Regions from separate parts of the Homo sapiens genome. Here region 1 is linked to region 2. The links are contacts of gene promoters, found by promoter capture Hi-C in blood cells and fetal thymus (Javierre and others, 2016). All regions are on one chromosome and are shown on one strand. Each heading gives the region's core, a stretch centred on a gene start or on the middle of the fragment in contact. The rest is flanking DNA. Distances are from core to core; before and after follow the strand shown.

Region 1 (4,960 bases), core at 1-2,500, 3.1 Mb before region 2:
AAAAAGTAAAAAATATTCTTGTAGAGATAGGATCTCACTGTTGTCCAGATTGGTCTCAAATTTTTGAGCTCAAGCCATCCTCCTGCCTTGGCCTCCCAAAGTGCTGGCATTACAGGGTGAGTCACCATGCCTAGTCTGTACTGTTTTCCTGGCAATGTTATCTCATTCAATCTTCGTGAATAACCCTAAGGTAGATATGATACCAATTTTTCAGGTGAAAAAAACTAATCGGCAGGATGAAACTTCGTAAACAGCCTGTGGCTCCAAAAGCTTCTGGAAGGCTCAAGCTACCCATGTGCATCTTTGAGCCTCAGTTTCCCCATCTTTAAAATGAGGGGTTTGGAATAGATGTCTGTTCTCTGGGGCAGGATGCAGAGGAAAGAGCTGTCTGCGAATGGGCAAGAGAGAAGGTGGGTAAATACAGTTAAACCACAGTGACCGAGGGCCCAGCACAACGGGGGTGGGTGCGGTTACAAATGCCGTTAAGATTCCCGCCAAGGCGGAGGACGGGGGTGTCAGAGCCGAGCGAGGCCTGTGGGCGAGAATAGGCCTGACAGCCATTCTCCGACCTGCGTGGGCGCTGCAGGCGCAGGCCAGAGGCCAAGGGAGAGGCGATCCCTGGGGCTCTGCCCGGGTCTCAGGACGGCACCTCACCCGCCCGAGTCCTGCTCCACAGGATTCTCCGGGTAAGCTAGGGAAGGAAGAGGCGCGGCCTCCTGAGCCCGCATCTCAGAGCGCCACGTCCCTCCTGGCTCAGCCTCCCACCAGGCTCCACAGCTTCGGCCCTCCTCACCGCCCGCCTCCAGGCTCCCCGGCGCGGCCTTGTCCCTGCTCCCGCCAATCGGCGTCGTCAGCAATCGCGAACCGGACCAATCAGCGGCCGCAGAGTGTGGGAACTGTCGCCATGGCAGCCAGGAGGCGGGCGCGCGCGGCGGGAGGAGGGGCAGAGCGGAGCGGTGGGCCGGGGGCTGGAGGACAGGTTTGTGCGCTGGACGCAAGCACCAGGCGCAGCCTCGCTCGCCGAGACCCGGCCAGGTAAGGCCGGTGGCCGCGCGGTAGGTGCGGAGCAGCGCGGCGGGAGATTAGGGGTGGGGGAGTCCGGAGATAAGGCTCCGGTCTTCGCCTGCCTTGCCAGAGCAGAGAGGATGGTGGGGGCCGTGCTGTGGGCGGGGCACCGGCGGGGAGGGGGCTCCCAGCGCGAGCCGGAGGCGCTGGGTTCCCTCTGCTCCACTCGCAGCTGGGCACCCGAGCTTTCTTCGGGGTCGAGGAGGGTGGCTGGCTCTTGGCGGGGAGCAGGAGAGGGTAGGTGCCAAACCGAGACCCTGGCGGGGTCCCTTCGGGTTTGGGCAGGTCGATGGGCAAGGGGGTGCCCACTAGTGAGGAGGGACACCCACCAATTCCAGGCGATGCTCCCCTGTGCCGCTCAGCAAAGCTAGGCCCGGGGATCCTGCTCTTCTCCGGTCTGGTTAAGCCAGCAACCTCTGACACTTAGGAGAAAGTTAGTGTAAGTCGTGATATGCTTTTCACTTAAGTGACAAATTAGGTACGAGATGAACCCTTTTGGTTTTAGGAGATGAGAAACAGTATTTCCTTGTTGCACCTGCTAAGTGGCAACTCAGTGAGCAAATATGGTTATTGTGGTTGGTGTTTGCAACGGTCTTAGATGACAGTTATTTTACAGTATCAAATGGCTGGGAGAGGGAGGGAAAGAAGGAGAGAGAGAGAGAGAATATGAGGGAATGAGAATGAACGGGAACCATTATGATTTTTGAGAGACAGAACCTCTTGAAATTCTATGTCTGCTAAACTTCTAAATTGAATAATGTACATTTTATGCAATTGAATAAGCTAGTGCTACCATTTAAGCCTGCTACTAAGGCTCTGTTAAATCCGTGGACGAATATGAACACTAAAAGATATTACCTTGGTTTAAAAATAGGGGAGGTTAAATGCAAATATTTCTGATAGTGAATTTTGTTTGAGGGAGATTGTGGACTTTCCCTATGGGAAAGTTAAAGAATTGATGAGATAGATGCTTTAAGGAATGTTTTTGTTTTTTGAAACTTGAATAAGTTCAACAAATGTTGAACAAATATTTCAACAAATCTTCTTCAGCTAATAGGGTCAAAAATTAAAATTCTGGAAATTTAGAATTAGAAATGAAATCTCAAATAATGTCACTCTCCTAATTAGGATGAACATGGAAACTTCTATTTCTCATCGTGGTCTTCAAGCTTTCCATGATCTCATCTACCTTTGTAGTAGGGGGTCAAATTTTTTTTTTAACTAGACAATTTTAGAAACTTAAAGGAGGCAAAAATTTATTTCTGTCTCCGTGTGTTTACTCATGCTCTTCTCTATCCAAATTTTACCCATCTTTTTTTTTTTTTTTTTTTTTTTGAGATGGAGTCTCACTCTGTCACCCAGGCTGGAGTGCAATGGCCCGATCTCAGCTCACTGCAGCCTCCGCCTCCCGGGTTCAAGGGATTCTCCTACCTCAGCCCATCGAGTAGCTGGGATTACAGGGACCCACCACCACAGCCAGCTAATTTTTTGTATTTTTATTAGAGACGAAGTTTCACCATGTTGGCCAGGCTGGTCTCGAACTCCTGACCTCAGGTGATCCACTTGCCTTGGCCTCCCAAAGTGCTGAGATTACAGGTGTGAGCCACCGTGCCTGGACGACCCATGTTCTAAGAGTCGAATCTGTCTATGTTGTGTTTACCTTTCTTTGCTCTCCCAAGGTACATATTGTTCATATCACGTATTTTGTATATATTCTTTCAGCATGCTTTTTGCCAAGTTGGTTTGCGCTCTGTGAATAACAGTTGAGATAAAATGCACAATTAAGACAATTAAGGTACTTTTCAAGACACAACTAATTATGGGCACTAATATCAATAACATCAATTCAGATGTCTTTTTTGTTTTGGGATATGTTATTAATCTCTGAACACATACTAAACTAATTTTGCATTACTTAGAATAATATGTAAATTACTTTCCACTTTCTAAGGACCCTTTTGAAGGCTGGGTTCTACAAAATACCCTTTTGAGTACTGGGTAGCTGGCAGAAGCAAGTGCAGGATTTAAAAATGTATTGAAAATAATCCTTTAGGCCGGGCATGGTGGCTAATGCCTGTAATCCCAGCACTTTGGGAGGCTGAGGCGGGTGGATCACTTGAGTCCAGGAGTTCAAGACCAGCCTGGCCAACATGGTGAAACCCCGTCTTTACTAAAAATACAAAAATTAGCCAGACGTAGTGGCGGGCATCTGTAATCTCAACTACTCAGGAGGCTGGAGCAGGGGAATCGCTTGAACCTGGAGGCGGAGGTTGCAGTGAGCCGAGATCGCGCTATTGCACTCCAGCCTGGGCAACTAGAGTGAAACTACGTCTCAAAAACAAAACAAAAAACAGGCTACTAACAATTTCAAATAATTTATTCAAGGAAAAACTTCAATCACTTTCATTATTTCCAATCAAAAATTTTTTTTACAACCATGATGTGGTGAAAAGTATACTTAGTTAGAATTTCATGGCCAGATTCCAGTACGGGCTCTGCCAAACGAACTTGGCCAAGTCAGTTAACTTCCTTCTGTATTTATAACCTTTTATAAAAGTAGGGCTGAATTAGATTACAGTAGTCCTCCTTTATCCTAGAGGGATATGTTCCAAGGGTCCCAATGGATGCCTGAAACTACAGGTAGTACCAACCCTTATATACGCTATGTTTTTTGCTATACATACATAATAATAAAATGAATAACAGTAATACACTGAAATGAAAGTTATATGAATGTGATCTTTCAAAATATCTTGTTTTACCTCAGGTAATTGAAACTGCAGAAAGTGAAATCGCAGATTAGGGAGGACTACTGTACCTCCAAGATTATTTCTGATCTTAGAATTCTCTGATTCTAAAATCCTAAAGCAGCCTAATAGAAGTTCAGATAGTAGTTACTTGATTTTATTTTTGGCAGAGCATTTTTTTTTTTTTTTTTTTTTTTTGAGACAGGGCCTCACTCTGTTGCCCAGGCTGACTGGAGTACAGTGGTGTGATCATGGCTCACTGCAGCCTGGAACTGCCAGGCTCAAGTGATCCTCCTACCTCAGCCTCCTGAGTAGCTAGGACTAAAGGAGCATGCCACCACACCCTGCTAATTTTTAAGTATTTTTTTGTAGAGAAGAGGCCTCGCCATGTTGTCCAGGCTGGTCTCAAACTTCTAGGCTCAAGCGATCTGCCTGTCTTGGCCTCCCAAAGTGCTGGAATTACAGGCATGAGCCACTACACCTGGCCTTGGCAGAGTTTTTTTTGGCAGTGTATTTTAATTATCTGAAGTACAGTATATGTAAATAATAAAGAGATTATAATTTTAATAATATGTTTATTGAGTGATACAGATCTGTTTTTCATAAGCCTATAATCTAGGATACTCCAATCCGTTGTTAAGACTGGAAAAAAAGGAGATATAATAGTTTCATTGATGAGTGTCCTTTTCTACAGATGTAGACAACAGAGGCTCTAAGATCTATACTAATGTCTTGATCAGGGAAAAGCTGGAGTCCAACTCAGCTGGTCATACACTTGATATTTTATTTGAACCTCACTTTCCTGTTGACTTTCATTTTCAAAGGGAAAATGGAGGTGAGCACCAGGTTATCTGTGGCCTTTGAAACTGGTGCCATGGAGAAACTCAAAAGCCGTTTATTTTTCTTCACCCTACCCTGTTTCATCATTAGATTTGTGACATTGATAGTAAGAAGAAGCAATCCACGTTTCCTAGCTCAAGGCAGTGTCTTAGAGAAGGAAACCTGAGTCTCTTGCTACAGTTCTGATTTAAGGTTGGAAGGAAGAGATTATGTTGGATGCATTGCTTTCATTGGTCTATGATTGCATCAGGACTTTGGTTCTGGCAATGTTCAGAGAAGAGCTCTAATGTGGCCTTTCAAAAATGACT
Region 2 (4,737 bases), core at 813-3,312:
AATTTACAATTAAGGGAGAAAAGTACATTTAGAAGTACATTTAGCAATAATATAAGGCATCATTTTTATTCAGTGAATACATTCAGTATCTATTAATACTATGGGCCAGGCCACATATTATGTGCCAGAGAAATGAAAGTAAAGAGACATGGCCCTTACTTACCCTTATTGTTCAGTGCTGTGGGGTATCACCAAAAAAGAAAAAAAAATCAAGTAAGCAAATGGTGGGTGCTAAGAAACTAACAGGATACTCCTGAAATAATGGTGGAAACTATTTTAGAAATGGCCTGAGGAAAGTGTTTCTGGTTGAGACCAAAGGGACCTACCCATGTGTAGAACATTCAATGATTAGCAGTAAATAAAAGGCTTAAGGGTGGGACCCAAGGTGAAGGGTTCCATTGGAAAGAGGCAGGATTATGCAGGGCCTGATAGGCCAATTAGATAAACTCTGCTAGAGCCTGGGGCACTCCCTCCTAAGCAAGAATTCTGGGCCGGGCGGTGGCTCGCGGGCAGGTGGATCACCTGAGGTCGGGAGTTCCAGACCAGCCTGACCAACATGGAGAAACCCTGTCTCTACTAAAAATCCAAAATCAGCCGGACGTGGTGGCGCATGCCTGTAATCCCAACTACTCGGGAGGCTGAGGCAAGAGAATCGCTTGAACCCGGAAGGTGGAGGTTGCGGTGAGCCTGAGATCGTGCCATTGCACTCCAGCCTGGGCAACAAGAGCGAAACTCCGTCTCAAAAATCAAACAAAAAAAAGTTCTATGGTTTGAAGAGATATAAGGAAAGGAAGAAAGGGACGTGGCATGAGGCAGGCAGGGGAACATTTGTGTTCTTCCCCACACAGCAGCCAGATTGTTACTTTCTCAACACATCTGAGAGCATCACTCCCTGGCTTAAATAGTTATGTCTGAGCACTTTACATGTATTAACTCGTTTTATCCTTACTGTAGTTCTGAAGTTAGTCCAGGTTTTTTGTTTTTTGTTTTTTTTTTTTTAAGATGGAGTCTTGCTCTGTTGCCCAGGCTGGAGTACGGTGGCACAATCTCGGCTCACCACAAGCTCCGCCTCCCGGGCTCAAGCAATTCTCCTGCCTCAGCCTCCCAAGTAGCTGGGATTGCAGGCGCGTGCCACCACACCTGGTTAATTTTTGTATTTTTAGTAGGGACAGGGTTTCACCATGTTGGCCAGGCTGGTCTCCAACTCCTGACCTCAGGTGATCCGCCCGCCTCAGCCTCCCAAAGTGCTGGTACTATAGACGTGAGCCACCGTGCCCTGCCCAAGTGCAGTTATTATCCTTGTTTTGTATTTGATGAAACTGAGGCAGAGAGAGGTCGAGTAACTTGCCCAAGATCACAGTTACAAAGTGACGTGGGTAGGATTCAAACCCAGCAGGCTGCCTCTAGAGTTCACGTTCTCACTTAACCAAAGATTAAAATCCGTCTTGGGGGGTTTGACACCTATCTGTCCCTGCAGTAGACCCACCCTGGCCCATGCAGTTCGTTCCCTCTCGCCAGCTGCACCCCCTCCAGGACCTGGGAGCCCAGAAACCAGCCGAGCCTCCAGCGTTTGGCCTCCTCCGCCACCAGAGGGCGTCATGGGCCGATCGCCCCTCCGCTAACCGCTCATCCCAGGAAAAAGGGGCGCACAGAGGACAGGATGCCAACCCCAAAACCGCAGCGACGTCTCTCTGCCTTGGGGCTCACAGCAGCGGGCCGCGACCTCCCACTAACGCCTGCCGCAACCCAAGGAGGAGACAAAAGTCATCTTCCGGGCTGCAACATTAACCGTCATCAGCGCGCCTCTTCAGCGCGCACTGCGCCAACCCTGCGGCAGGAGGAGGCGGAGCCCCCGCTCTCGCCCCGCCCCCACCTCACGTGACCCGCACGGCGCCTCGAGGCCGGAAGCGATTGCGAGCCAGCGCGCGCGCTTCGGCGTTCCCGGCGGTCTGCGAAGTTTCCGGAGCCCGGGTCCCGCCGCGGGTTCGCGCTTGTGCTCGCGCTCGTTCCTGGAGTCGGCGGCCGCTGCGCGCGCTCGTTGCCCAACCCGGTCCCCGCCCCCAGACACGCCGGGCTCTCGGGGCACCACAGCCATGTGCTCGTTAGCGTCAGGCGCTACCGGTGGGTACCCTGGCCCCTCAGCACCCGGCTCGTCCAGCCCCAGGCCGCGCCGCTGTGGGGCCGGTGGAAGACCCTCCGGGACACGGGCCCGGGCAGGGTGGGGGGCTCGCAGGGATCATGAAGGAGGTGCTGAGTGAGGGCCGCGGGCGAACGGGGCGGAGGAGAGCCCATCGTCACCTGCTCCTCGAGCCCCCGGGCCGCACCGGTGTCCGAGGCCGATCTGATTGTTGTGTGTGTGTGTTAGGCGGCCGGGGCGCTGTGGAGAATGAGGAGGACCTGCCAGAACTGTCGGACAGCGGGGACGAGGCCGCCTGGGAGGATGAGGACGATGCAGATCTCCCCCACGGCAAGCAGCAGACCCCCTGCCTGTTCTGTAACAGGTTCGTCCGCCTCAGCGCCTGGCCTCTGCCCTAGGGTGCCCGGGCGCGTGGGGTCTGTGTGCCCAGGAACGCCTTCGGGCGGGAGGCAAGCCAGAGTGGCCTGTCTTTGAATTCTGGAACCACTGGTCTGGGGTGAGGGCTTGTGGAGAAGGAGGACCCTCGGTAGTAGAGAGGGGGAACCGTGAACTGGAAGGCCGGTTGTACTGCAAGCTTTTGACTGGTAGTGCATTGAATCTGTGGTTCCCAAATCTTGTCACTTGAGACGCTGAAAACAAAATGATACTGAACTCTGCACCTGAATCCTTCCAAGTCAGGGATGGGGTCTAAGAATATTCTGTTTTTATGAGGACAAGATCGGAAGTAACAGTGAAGTTACTAACGAGTTACTACTAACGAGTAACATATTTGGCAGCCACCCTGAACTAGATAATCCCTACGGAGCCTTCCGGCTTTACCATGCTAATTCTTTGACCAGTACAGAGCTTCTCAGGTGAAACATTTCTTTTTTATTTGAGCGGTTTCCATAGTCTAAGAAGGAAGTTCACCTTACTTAAGTAGGACTTTTCACTTAAGGAAAAAGACTGTAGTATCAATAATTTGCTCAAGGTCACAAAGCTGTGGTGTGCTTATTTCCAAACTCACATTCTTGCCACTTAAAATTCTGCCTGTTAGTCTTGGGAAGCTTTGGCTCCTGTCCTAGGCAAGTAGGCATGAAAGAGGCCCGGTTGGCATTGGCCGGTGTTACTTTAATACATTTTCCAGTGTTCCCTGTATCTGGGCATGGTGCTGAGTGGTGGTGCGTTAGTGTTCTCATCTGTAGCCCCATTGGGTAGATAGAATGCCTGTATATATTCTAGTTGTCATAAAATATTTATTGAGCACCAGTGGTACCGTGGCTGTGATAGCCTCCATAAATAGTCGACATAACCTATCTCGGTAAACATTTGTGGAAAACTAATGCTCCACATGTGTTAGGAATATAGATAAGGTATACAGCTTCTCTGCTGTGTATTCCTGTCTTTAAGTAGCCTTCAGATTTGCATGTCACATAATAAAGAGGATTGATCCTCACAGTGTCTGTGATGCAAGTACGTTGGGAATACTACAAGATCACTTTTGAAATAAGGCACTTGGGGAGTATGCCAGCTGTAAAATTACATTTTATGCTTTATTTCTAAAAGCAGTTTGAGCTGTGCCAGTTCAAAGCCTCTGAAAGCAGAGTTGACACTTAGAGGAGAAAAGAATCTCAAGTAGAGAAATTGTATGACTTGAGAGAAACAGACTCTATCAAAGGGAACTCTCTTAAAAGCCTTTTGATAAAATCAGTGATATTATTTGACAAATAAATTCACTTTGACATTTAAAGGATAATTGGTTTTAGGTATAAAATGGGACTCAGAAGTACTAATTCCCTTTAAAAGTGCTGGATTCCCTTCCTTTCAGATACAAGTGTGTTTGTTTTTTCTTAATTGGAAGTAAAACTAGAAACCAGCAGAGTTAAAAAAAAAAAAAAAGTGTATATGTAACATGAAATCAGTATTTAGACTTCTTAGGGGACTATTCCATGAAGCTATTGCTTGATTTTTCAGGTTATTCACATCTGCTGAAGAAACATTTTCACACTGTAAGTCTGAGCATCAGTTTAATATTGACAGCATGGTTCATAAACATGGTGAGTAGTTTTTAGAATAAAGGCAATTTAATTTGTGAAATTTGGGCAGGCATGGCAGCTCACACCTGTAATCCCAGCACTTTGGGAGGCTGAGGTGGGTGGATCACTTTAGGTCGGGAGTTCAAGACCAGCCTGGCCAACATGCTGAAACCCCACCTGTACTAAAATACAAAAGTTATCTGGGTGTGGTGACGCACACCTGTAATAGCAGCTGCTCAGAAGACTGAGGCAGGTGAATTGCTTAAACCTGGGAGGCAGAGGTGGCAGTGAGCTGAGATGGTATCACTGCACTCCAGCCTGGGCAACAGAGTGAGACTCTTCTCAAAAAAAAAAAAAATCTGTGAAATATAAGTTCAGATTTTATAGTTTTTCAGACCCTTTTCTGTACGAGTTTAATATGGCGAATCACACAGCAACATCTTGTGGAAATGGAGTTTTTTTGACAAGCGGTCCTTGAGAAAAGATGAATAAGTCACTCTTCTAGACAAGATTCACTGTATTTAAGCTTATATTAGCTTTTCAACTAAAAACAAAAACAGACTTGGCATGTGATTACATTTTTAC

The links. The method cuts DNA at HindIII sites, captures the fragments that hold promoters and counts their contacts. A CHiCAGO score of 5 or more calls a contact.
Region 1: a fragment that was not itself captured here is called in contact with the fragment with the promoter of PRMT3 in region 2 in 1 of 17 cell types (activated CD4 T cells); the score reaches 5.3 in activated CD4 T cells.

Annotation. Positions count from the first base shown.
Region 1 is chr11:17,275,794-17,280,753 of GRCh38, forward strand. It overlaps NUCB2 (nucleobindin 2), which reads left to right and starts at 946. Exons shown (of 14, transcript NM_005013.4): 1 at 946-1,035. RefSeq lists an enhancer at 500-589 and a silencer at 780-1,209. The HindIII fragment of the contact is 1,964 bases long and covers 269-2,232 here.
Region 2 is chr11:20,385,654-20,390,390 of GRCh38, forward strand. PRMT3 (protein arginine methyltransferase 3) reads left to right here and starts at 2,063. Exons shown (of 16, transcript NM_005788.4): 1 at 2,063-2,121; 2 at 2,366-2,501; 3 at 4,091-4,173. The coding sequence starts at 2,094. RefSeq lists enhancers at 1,771-1,940, 1,814-2,421, 2,422-3,028, 2,884-2,933 and a silencer at 1,774-2,333. The HindIII fragment of the contact is 3,061 bases long and covers 1-2,709 here.